2 separate regions of the Homo sapiens genome follow, and region 2 is linked to region 1. Evidence: promoter capture Hi-C in 16 types of primary human blood cells and fetal thymus (Javierre and others, 2016). All regions are on one chromosome and are shown on one strand. Each heading gives the region's core, a stretch centred on a gene start or on the middle of the fragment in contact. The rest is flanking DNA. Distances are from core to core; before and after follow the strand shown. Region 1 holds the start of ARPC5 (actin related protein 2/3 complex subunit 5). Region 2 holds the start of TEDDM1 (transmembrane epididymal protein 1).

Evidence for each region. Contacts are between HindIII fragments. The CHiCAGO score rates a contact against its expected background, and 5 or more counts as called.
Region 2: a contact is called between the fragment with the promoter of TEDDM1 here and the fragment with the promoter of ARPC5 in region 1, in 1 of 17 cell types (neutrophils). The highest score is 5.2, in neutrophils.

Annotation. Positions count from the first base shown.
Region 1 is chr1:183,634,115-183,638,230 of GRCh38, reverse strand. It overlaps ARPC5 (actin related protein 2/3 complex subunit 5), which reads left to right and starts at 2,448. Exons shown (of 4, transcript NM_005717.4): 1 at 2,448-2,714. The coding sequence starts at 2,572. It also overlaps a transcript of RGL1 not described here. RefSeq lists silencers at 2,165-2,324, 2,805-2,854, 2,935-2,994, 2,946-3,164 and enhancers at 2,475-2,754, 2,752-3,252. The HindIII fragment of the contact is 3,712 bases long and covers 1-3,417 here.
Region 2 is chr1:182,398,231-182,402,346 of GRCh38, reverse strand. TEDDM1 (transmembrane epididymal protein 1) reads left to right here and starts at 1,680. Exons shown (of 1, transcript NM_172000.4): 1 at 1,680-4,116. The coding sequence starts at 1,862. The coding sequence ends at 2,683. The HindIII fragment of the contact is 8,350 bases long and covers 1-4,116 here.

The sequences.
Region 1 (4,116 bases), core at 1,199-3,698:
TTATACCCTTGAGCAATCGATTATTTAAATTTCTTTCACTATTCCCTTAAGCTGATTTCTACTCTGGGATTCTTTCATAGTTCTCAAATAAGAAAATAAAAAATTTCCTAAATAAGGCAATACAAAAGAATAGAAATGTAAGAGAAGAGATATATTAGCTCTTGAATCCCTGTTTCCATTTGCTGTCAATAGTGCCTCTAATGTTCGATTTTCTCTTCAAAGAAAAATCTTGATTTAAAAGAAGAAAAAGTACAATCACCTTTAACAGCTAAAGTATACTGATTAGCATCTACTAAAGTTAGCAAAGACTGAAACTGAAAAAAAATTGTAAAATCTTTATTCTAAGTTATATAACGCCATTCACCATAGTAATGATTTTATACTTTGGTATATGGCTTTTTAAAATAAATATTGCCAACAGGTAAAAATTTTTCCTTTGCTGTCTTAAGGCATTCCTAAGAGAATTTTTACCAGTGTGTGTTCATAACTTGAATGTTAATTTAAACAATGTTACTTCTATCACCTAAATGATATACTTATAGAAGAGTGGTTTAATTGGGAACAGAAAAACACCACATTGCTTCTTCCCAAGAAAAAGGGATGTATTCCATTCTCGAGGTCTCTCTCCCACTCTCTATTTATATATAATATACTGCATAGATAAATATACACACATTATATATGTATTTTTTTGAACTTAAAGAAGACTGGACATATGTATTTACATGTATATATCCAACAAATATTTAATTTTGAGATCTCTCTCCCTCTTCTGATTTATTATTCTCAGTATGATTCTCAAACTGTACGGTCTTTCACATTTCATTCATTCATCAAGCATGTATCGAGTCCCTTCTGCATGCTTAGCTTTTTGTCATATGGAAGGAAGATACAAAAGAAAAACTGTTTCTGCCCTTCAGAATCTTTCCATCTCTTCTAGGAAGGAGATAAAACACCATATATCATTAAGAAATTTATAAGACTAGTCCCAAAACCAATGGTACAAGCAACATGCATTTTACATTTATGTAGAATTTTAGAGCTTGGAAACACTTTCGTGATATATAATCCTAAGAACAATCTTGTAAAGTGCACATTATTAGCTCCATTTCAGTGATGAGGAATCTGAGACAGAATTTTAAGTGACATGTCTCGTTCAAACATTATGAGTGGAAGAGTCAACACTTAAGCCTGAGTTTTCTGATTCTAAGCCTAGTGCTCTTTTCAACACAGCACTGGAAACCAAAGATTGTGGTACACAACAGGGCAACAGCCAGTCTTCTGCTCGAGGTCCAACTAAACTGGACCCATACCGAGCAGTGTCCAGCCAAATGTCCAAATTAATTTTATCCTGCAAATATTTGTTCTTCAGTGTAATACACACAGCACAACTACCATTTCCTTCGTCTTAGTGCCTTTATCTCCTACATTCCAGAAATGGGGATGTCAAATATTTTTTTAAATCTGGCCTAGATGGAATCATATAAATCTCAAATCATAATATAAATCTTAAAGGTCTGGTTTCCACCAATCCTTCCACATTTTGTTTTCCCCCAGCACTAGAGAGCCTAACCTACCCTCACCCCTTTCGAGCATTCTTGCTCCAAACGACCACCTATTTTAAGATGTCAATGACCCTTTCCCAAATTCTACAAATTCACCCCAGTTTTGCCACCCGACCCCAGCGCCTGCCCGGACACGTTCCCCTCCCTCCCAATAGATTTGATACCGAGTTCAGGTTCTGCAGATCCCGTTGCGATGCTGTCACACAGCACTGACAGATAAGATTTGACCTTTCGACTCCGTCCTTGGGGACTTCCCGCTGGCCAAGAAGGGTAGTTCCAATCCCAGGAAACGGGCTTCCTGCTCAGGAACGCAGCCTCTAGCAGCGCACAGTCTGAGGCAATGTCTCCGGCAATTAGAACGATGCTGGGCGCCCGGGTGTGCATCACTCTGCCTCATACTCCTACCAACTGCAGGGCACTCGGTCCGGCAGCCAGTCCATCCCACCCACAGCCAAGTCCCAGCCAGCCGGACCTTACGCAGGACCCCGATGATAGGTCGTTGACGGCTGCAGCAAAAGCCAAGGCCACCTGCCGCTGCTGCCCATCCCCGCCAATCTGAGACCCCCTAGACTGGACCGCAGAAAAGCGTTTCTATGGGAACCCCCCCACCGAGAATCACGTGACGCAATCGGACGACCAATCGCTTCTTACCTCTGCCCGCGGTCCAGCTTTTGGCCCTCCCTCTCGCCCCCGCCTCCTTCGCCCAGCCCCGCCCCTTGCCTGCGGAGAGCCCGCGCCTGCGCGCTGTGTCCTGCGCGCTCCTTCCCTCGCGCGCGCTCTCCGTGGAAGAGCAGGGGCAGCGTGGGAGGCGCCAAGGGAGCGCGAACCTGAGGAGGAAGAAACGGGGCTAGCGCGCAGGCCCAGAACGGTCCGAGCCGCGGCAGTCGGCGACGCCTCAGAGCGGAAGAGGGAAGTGAATCAGGCGCCGGGTAGTGGGTTGCTGGGCTGGGCTTGCTGAGGTAGAGGCAGCGCCAAGAAGAGGCCTTTGCCGCTGGTCGGGATTGGGATGTCGAAGAACACAGTGTCGTCGGCCCGCTTCCGGAAGGTGGACGTGGATGAATATGACGAGAACAAGTTCGTGGACGAAGAAGATGGGGGCGACGGCCAGGCCGGGCCCGACGAGGGCGAGGTGGACTCCTGCCTGCGGCAATATCCTTGCATTCACCGCCCTCCCCACCCCAGCCCAGCCCAGCCCGCCCTTCTCCTGGGACCCGGGAGCCTGCAGGATCCGCGGGGCACCGGCGCGGAGCTGCCCTCTCAACCTGCGGCTTAACCTGTCTCTTTGGGATCGCCCGCTCTGAGAGGGCAAGGGGGAAGCCCCCGTTTCCTACCCAGTCGGCAGGAGACGCGAGGGTCCCACTCTTGGAAGCCTGCCCTCCCCCGCGCGCCTTCCACGCCCCCAGATTCCTCAGGTTGCACCCGAGTGCCTGCCTGCCTCGGGAACTGGTCCCGCCGGCCGCGCCCTCGCGGCGCTGGGGAAGGCGGCCCCGGCTGGTGGGGAAGGCTGGTGCCGAGCGCCTTAGTTTTTCTTCCTAGAACTCTGATTTCCTGGGGTCACATTAGCTCCAGAAATTTCTGATTGTGGGGAACCTGCATCTTTCCTTAGTGGTTTTGTTTTTTGTTGTGTTTTTGTTATTGGTAGCGTTAAGGTAGTTTATTCCTTACCGGGGGGCGGGGGGAGATGGGACTGTTCGAAAATTGAGGGTCCCTGTGCTTTCAGCCCATTGGCCTTTTTAAAAAAAAAAAAAAAAGAAGAAGAAGAAGGGGATTTGGCAAAATATACATTGTACAGAATTTGTTAACTGGGGGAGGGGAATGAATACAAAAAATACAAAACTCCTAGAAGGAAGCTTGGAGCCTTTTACCTGCTAAGAAAAGGACAATAGAAAAAACAACGGGGAATGCGTGTGGAGAATCCTTGGAAATATTTAAAATAAACCCCAATGAATAAGATAGAAGATGAGTCATTCGTATAAAGCAGAATCATTTTTGTAATCCTAAAATTGTTTCCATTTTAGTTAAAATATGGCAGTCAGTTCCCGGTTTCTGTTTTTGCATATTTGAATATTCATAACTTTGGCTTCGCATTTGCATTACATCTTTTTTAGAAAAATGTAAATGTTGCAAAAAAACCGAAGCTGTAGTTTTAGAAAATCTCAGACACTGAATTTGTATGCATTTCTAATTCTTGGGTGTATTCATAAGGAAGACTCTCAACAATGTCCTGTTATAGTGGGGAAATATGAGAGTGAAAATATTTAATGGCAACAATATCCTTTTTTAAAGGCACCTAAATAGAGCATTAGACATTTATCAATATATAGATAGTGCTTTGCCACAACTTTCACAATTAATTAGCTGTTGCTCTTTTGCATTATTTAAATACTTAAGTGCTTGGAGTTATAAAAAATGAGCTAATCTACATCAGGCATGCTTCTCTAGAAATCCCTGCAGCCTTGAAAATAACAGCTTGTCAACCAGAGATTTTGTGTAAGAACTTTTTCTTTAGAAAATAAATGGTGAACATGCTTCCTAAAAACATTATTTGTGA
Region 2 (4,116 bases), core at 431-2,930, 1.2 Mb after region 1:
ACATGTATGGGGAAACCAGTATATGTAGGGTTCAGTACTAACCTATCCCAGGTTTCAGGCATCCACTGGGAGTCTTAGAAAGTATCACCCATGGATAAGGAGGGGCTATATAGACATTAATTTTTATAAAAAAAATAAATGGGGGCTGCTTTGCCTATAGAGTAGCCATTCTTTTATTCCTTTTTTTCTTAATAAATGTGCTTTCATTTTAAAAAATAAAAAATAATGAATAAATAAATAAATGGGGCCAGGTACGGTGGCTCACGCCTGTAATCCCAGTACTTTGGGAGGCTGAGGTGGGTGGATCACTTGAGCCCAGGAGTTTGAGACCCAGCATGGACAATGTAGTGAGACCTCATCTCTACAAAAAATAGCTGGATGTGGTGGCTCATGTCTGTTGTCCCAGCTACTCAGCAGCTGAGGCAGGAGGATTGATTGAGCTCAGGAGGTTGAGGCTGCAGTGAGCCGTCATCAAGCCACTGCACTGCAACCTGGGCAACAAAGCGAGACACTGTCTAAAAATAAAAATAAAAATAGAAATAAAAATAAATAAATGAAGACTCTTGCCTTGGATGCAACCCCTCATATGCAGCTGGCTGCTACCTAGTGCTTAGAACTCTTTCTGCCTATATGTGTTAGACACATAGTAAATGATAATTAAAGAGAGAATAAAGTTGAGGACCTAATTCACATTAAAATATAAGCAGTTTGTTGGATCTACTTATCTCAACATATCTGCATTTTAATAAAAAATTATACCTTAACATTCCAAAATTGATCTCAAAAGGTGACATTTTACATTCATCTACTGTTCTTTGGAAAGATAATTTGGGGCAATTGAGCTGCTTTCTTTGTGATCCCCAAAAACTGTTACAGAAGAATGAAGAGGACAAGAGCTCAGTATCTATATATATGAGCACACATCCAAACGTTTATAAACTTTTATGTCTAGGAAGAATGTATTTGCTCTCAGTATATGACCCAACATATGAGTAAGGAGTCTTTTTTTTTTTTGAGACAGTCTCGCTCTGTCACCCAGGCTGGAGTGTAGTGAGATGATCCTGGCCCACTGCAACATCCGCCTCCCGGGTTCAAGTAATTCTCCTGCCTCAGCCTTCCAAGTGGCTGGGATTACAGGCACTCTTTACCATGCCCAGCTAGTTTTTGTATTTTTAGTGGAGATGGGATTTCACCATGTTGGCCAGGCTGATCTCGAACTCCTGACCTCGAGATCTGCCTTGGCCTCCCAAAGTGCTGGGATTACAGGCTTGAGCCACCATGCCTGTCCGAGTAAGGAGTCTTAAAGGATGCATTAAGGTTTGTGAGTAACCCGGGTCTTCTCTGGATAATCTCCGTGCTCAGGCACCTCTCTTTTTCTACTCCGAGCATTGAACAGGGGCAGAAGGAAGCAAGCCATGAGAGAGAGGGACAAGTGTAACCAGAAGGTCCTCAAGGGTCCAAAAGCAGAGCTCCTGAGAGCACAAATTCCCACAGGTGCATACTAAAAAATATTTATGTTTCTACTTTGGCAGAACTCAATTAGTTCCCAGTGTACTGGAATGAAATGGAACAATGAGACCCACCTCACTAAAAACCTAGGCTCCTGTCCAGAACTTTCCAGTCTGTGAGAGAGCAGTGGGCAGAAGGAGATGATAAAAGTAGGTAGAACTTAGCTCTGTATATATAGGCCCAGAACTCGAGAGGCCTGTGAGGGAGAGGAGAGCAGAGAGGTCCTGAGTATTGCTCTTCACGCTTCAGTCGGACAGGCCTGTATTCCATGGGAAAGTCCATTGGCCATTTTTAACTGGGGCTATTTCTTTTCTCTTATGGACTATATCAGGCCACAGTGGTCTCCAAGGGCATGATACTCAAAGGTTGTCTCCTGTATCCTTTGTGCTCTCCCAGGAATAAGCAAAGATGTGCCAGGCTGTGGAAAATAGCCTATGGAGGATTACTAAAGATAGTGACTGGCTCCCTCTTAACATTTTATGTGGTTCTCTGTCTTGATGGCGGGATGGTGCTCATGAGGAAGCAAGTGCCATCAAGGTTCATGTACCCCAAAGAGTGGCAGCACCTCACCATGTTCATCCTCCTCACTCTTAATGGCTGTGTGGACTTCATGAGCAAGAATGTGCTGCCTCAGAGGTGTGTGGGCCTAGAAAAAGGTACCCTGGTCCTGATCATCTACGAGCTCCTGCTGCTGATGGTGTCACATGTTAAAGATTCAGAAGGGGTGGAGCTGCACGTTTATTCTCTGCTCATCTTGGTGGTGTTCCTGCTGTTGCTGGTGTTGACTGCAGAGCTGTGGGCTCCCAACATGTGTCATCTCCAGCTGATGGAGACCTTTCTGATTCTGATGATGGGCTCCTGGCTGATGCAGGCAGGCTTTATTCTATACAGACCCGTCTCTGGCTACCCATGGCAGGACGATGACATCAGTGACATCATGTTTGTCACCACCTTCTTCTGCTGGCATGTGATGATCAATGCCTCATTCCTGTTGGGAATCTATGGCTTCTCTTCCTTTTGGTATCATTGTTTCAGACCCAGCTTGAAGCTGACTGGGCCCAAAGAAGCTCCATATTATGCAAGCACTCCAGGACCCCTCTACAAGTTGCTACAGGAAGTGGAGCAGTCAGAGAAAGAGGACCAGGCTCTCCTCCTTCCAAAGAGCTCCCCCTGAGACAGGGCCTACAGTGGCTGGCACATCGTCCACCTCATCTTCCTCCTGTTGGCTCCTCAGCCACGAGCATGGTACCCTCCTTGGTAAAGGTAATGGCCTTGAAGGCTAGCAGTTGGTCCCGTCTGCTGGTTCATTTTCTTTTCTTCTCTTTTCTTTTTTTTTTTTTTTGAGACAGAGTCTCGCTCTGTTGCCCAGCCTGGAGTGCAATGGCACAATCTCAGCTCAGTGCAACCTCCGCCTCCCGAGTTCAAGCGATTCTCCTGCCTCAGCCTCCCGAGTAGCTGCAATTACAGGAGCCTGCCACCATGCCCGTGCTGGTGCATTTTCTGTCCCTGAGCCTCTAATTACTGAGAAGATAAGGGGAGAGGGATTGAGAAAGAGACGCTGATGGGATTTGCGGGAGGGAGGGAAAAGGACGAGGAGAACACTTCTTCTTAGTGTGCAAGAAAAGCCACTGGGGGAAGAGAATGCAACAAAAGGAAGAGCTGTGAAGGGAGGAGAACAGAGTCTAGCAGTTATGCTGTCATTAGCGTCATCAGGCACAAGGGATTGCCTTTTACCTGAGGGAATAAAGACTTCTCACAACTCAAAACTGGACCCATTCAAATCTCATCTTGATAAAGAAAAGTGGGTACTTTACGTGCTCACCAAAGTGGTGCCACCATGTGGAAATAGCATGATAGAATTTATAATTAATTCATACAGGCTGAAATTATGCTCGCTTTGCCTCCTTCTCTCTCCGCAGCTTTCAAGAATTGGCTTCATTTCAAACTTTACATATAAAGTGAGACTTTTTAAATACTTAATAACATTTCAAATTTCCATAATTTAAATTTGTATAGAATTCAACTGCTATAGCATTTTTATAGCATTCAAATGCTTGGTACTTCCCTGACTTCTCATTTTATTACTCTTATTCTAGCCCAAACTTTCCTTTTCACCATGACCACCCTTGCACATGCAATTTAGCAGATACCATTCTTGGGTCTTTGCAAATTTCTTTTCCTTGCAAATCACAGCCAGTCATCCTACAGTCACATATTTACCATGTTATTCGATTCCCAGAATAAACCTACATCCACCCCCACACCGCACCAAGTATCCCCAAGGTGGCCTTCTCCAGAACTCTTACTGATTCCCTTGTTTTGGAACTCTTGGGCACTTACATTAAATCTGCTTTGTTAGTTTGCTCATACAGGTGACCCACTTTCTTTTATACTGCTGCTGAAATCATTTTCTTTCAGAAGGTTCTTCCTCACCCACTAAAGTACAGGCTCCTAAAGGGAAAAGACTTTGCCTTATCCAAGTTACCAAATTTCCTATGTATACTCCAGCTATGGATCATGGTTATGTTTAATAAAGCCTTCTTTGCTTCCAGAGTCTTCCCTAATCCTGTTTCTTCTAAATGTATTGCTGGACAGGTTGGAGGTTTT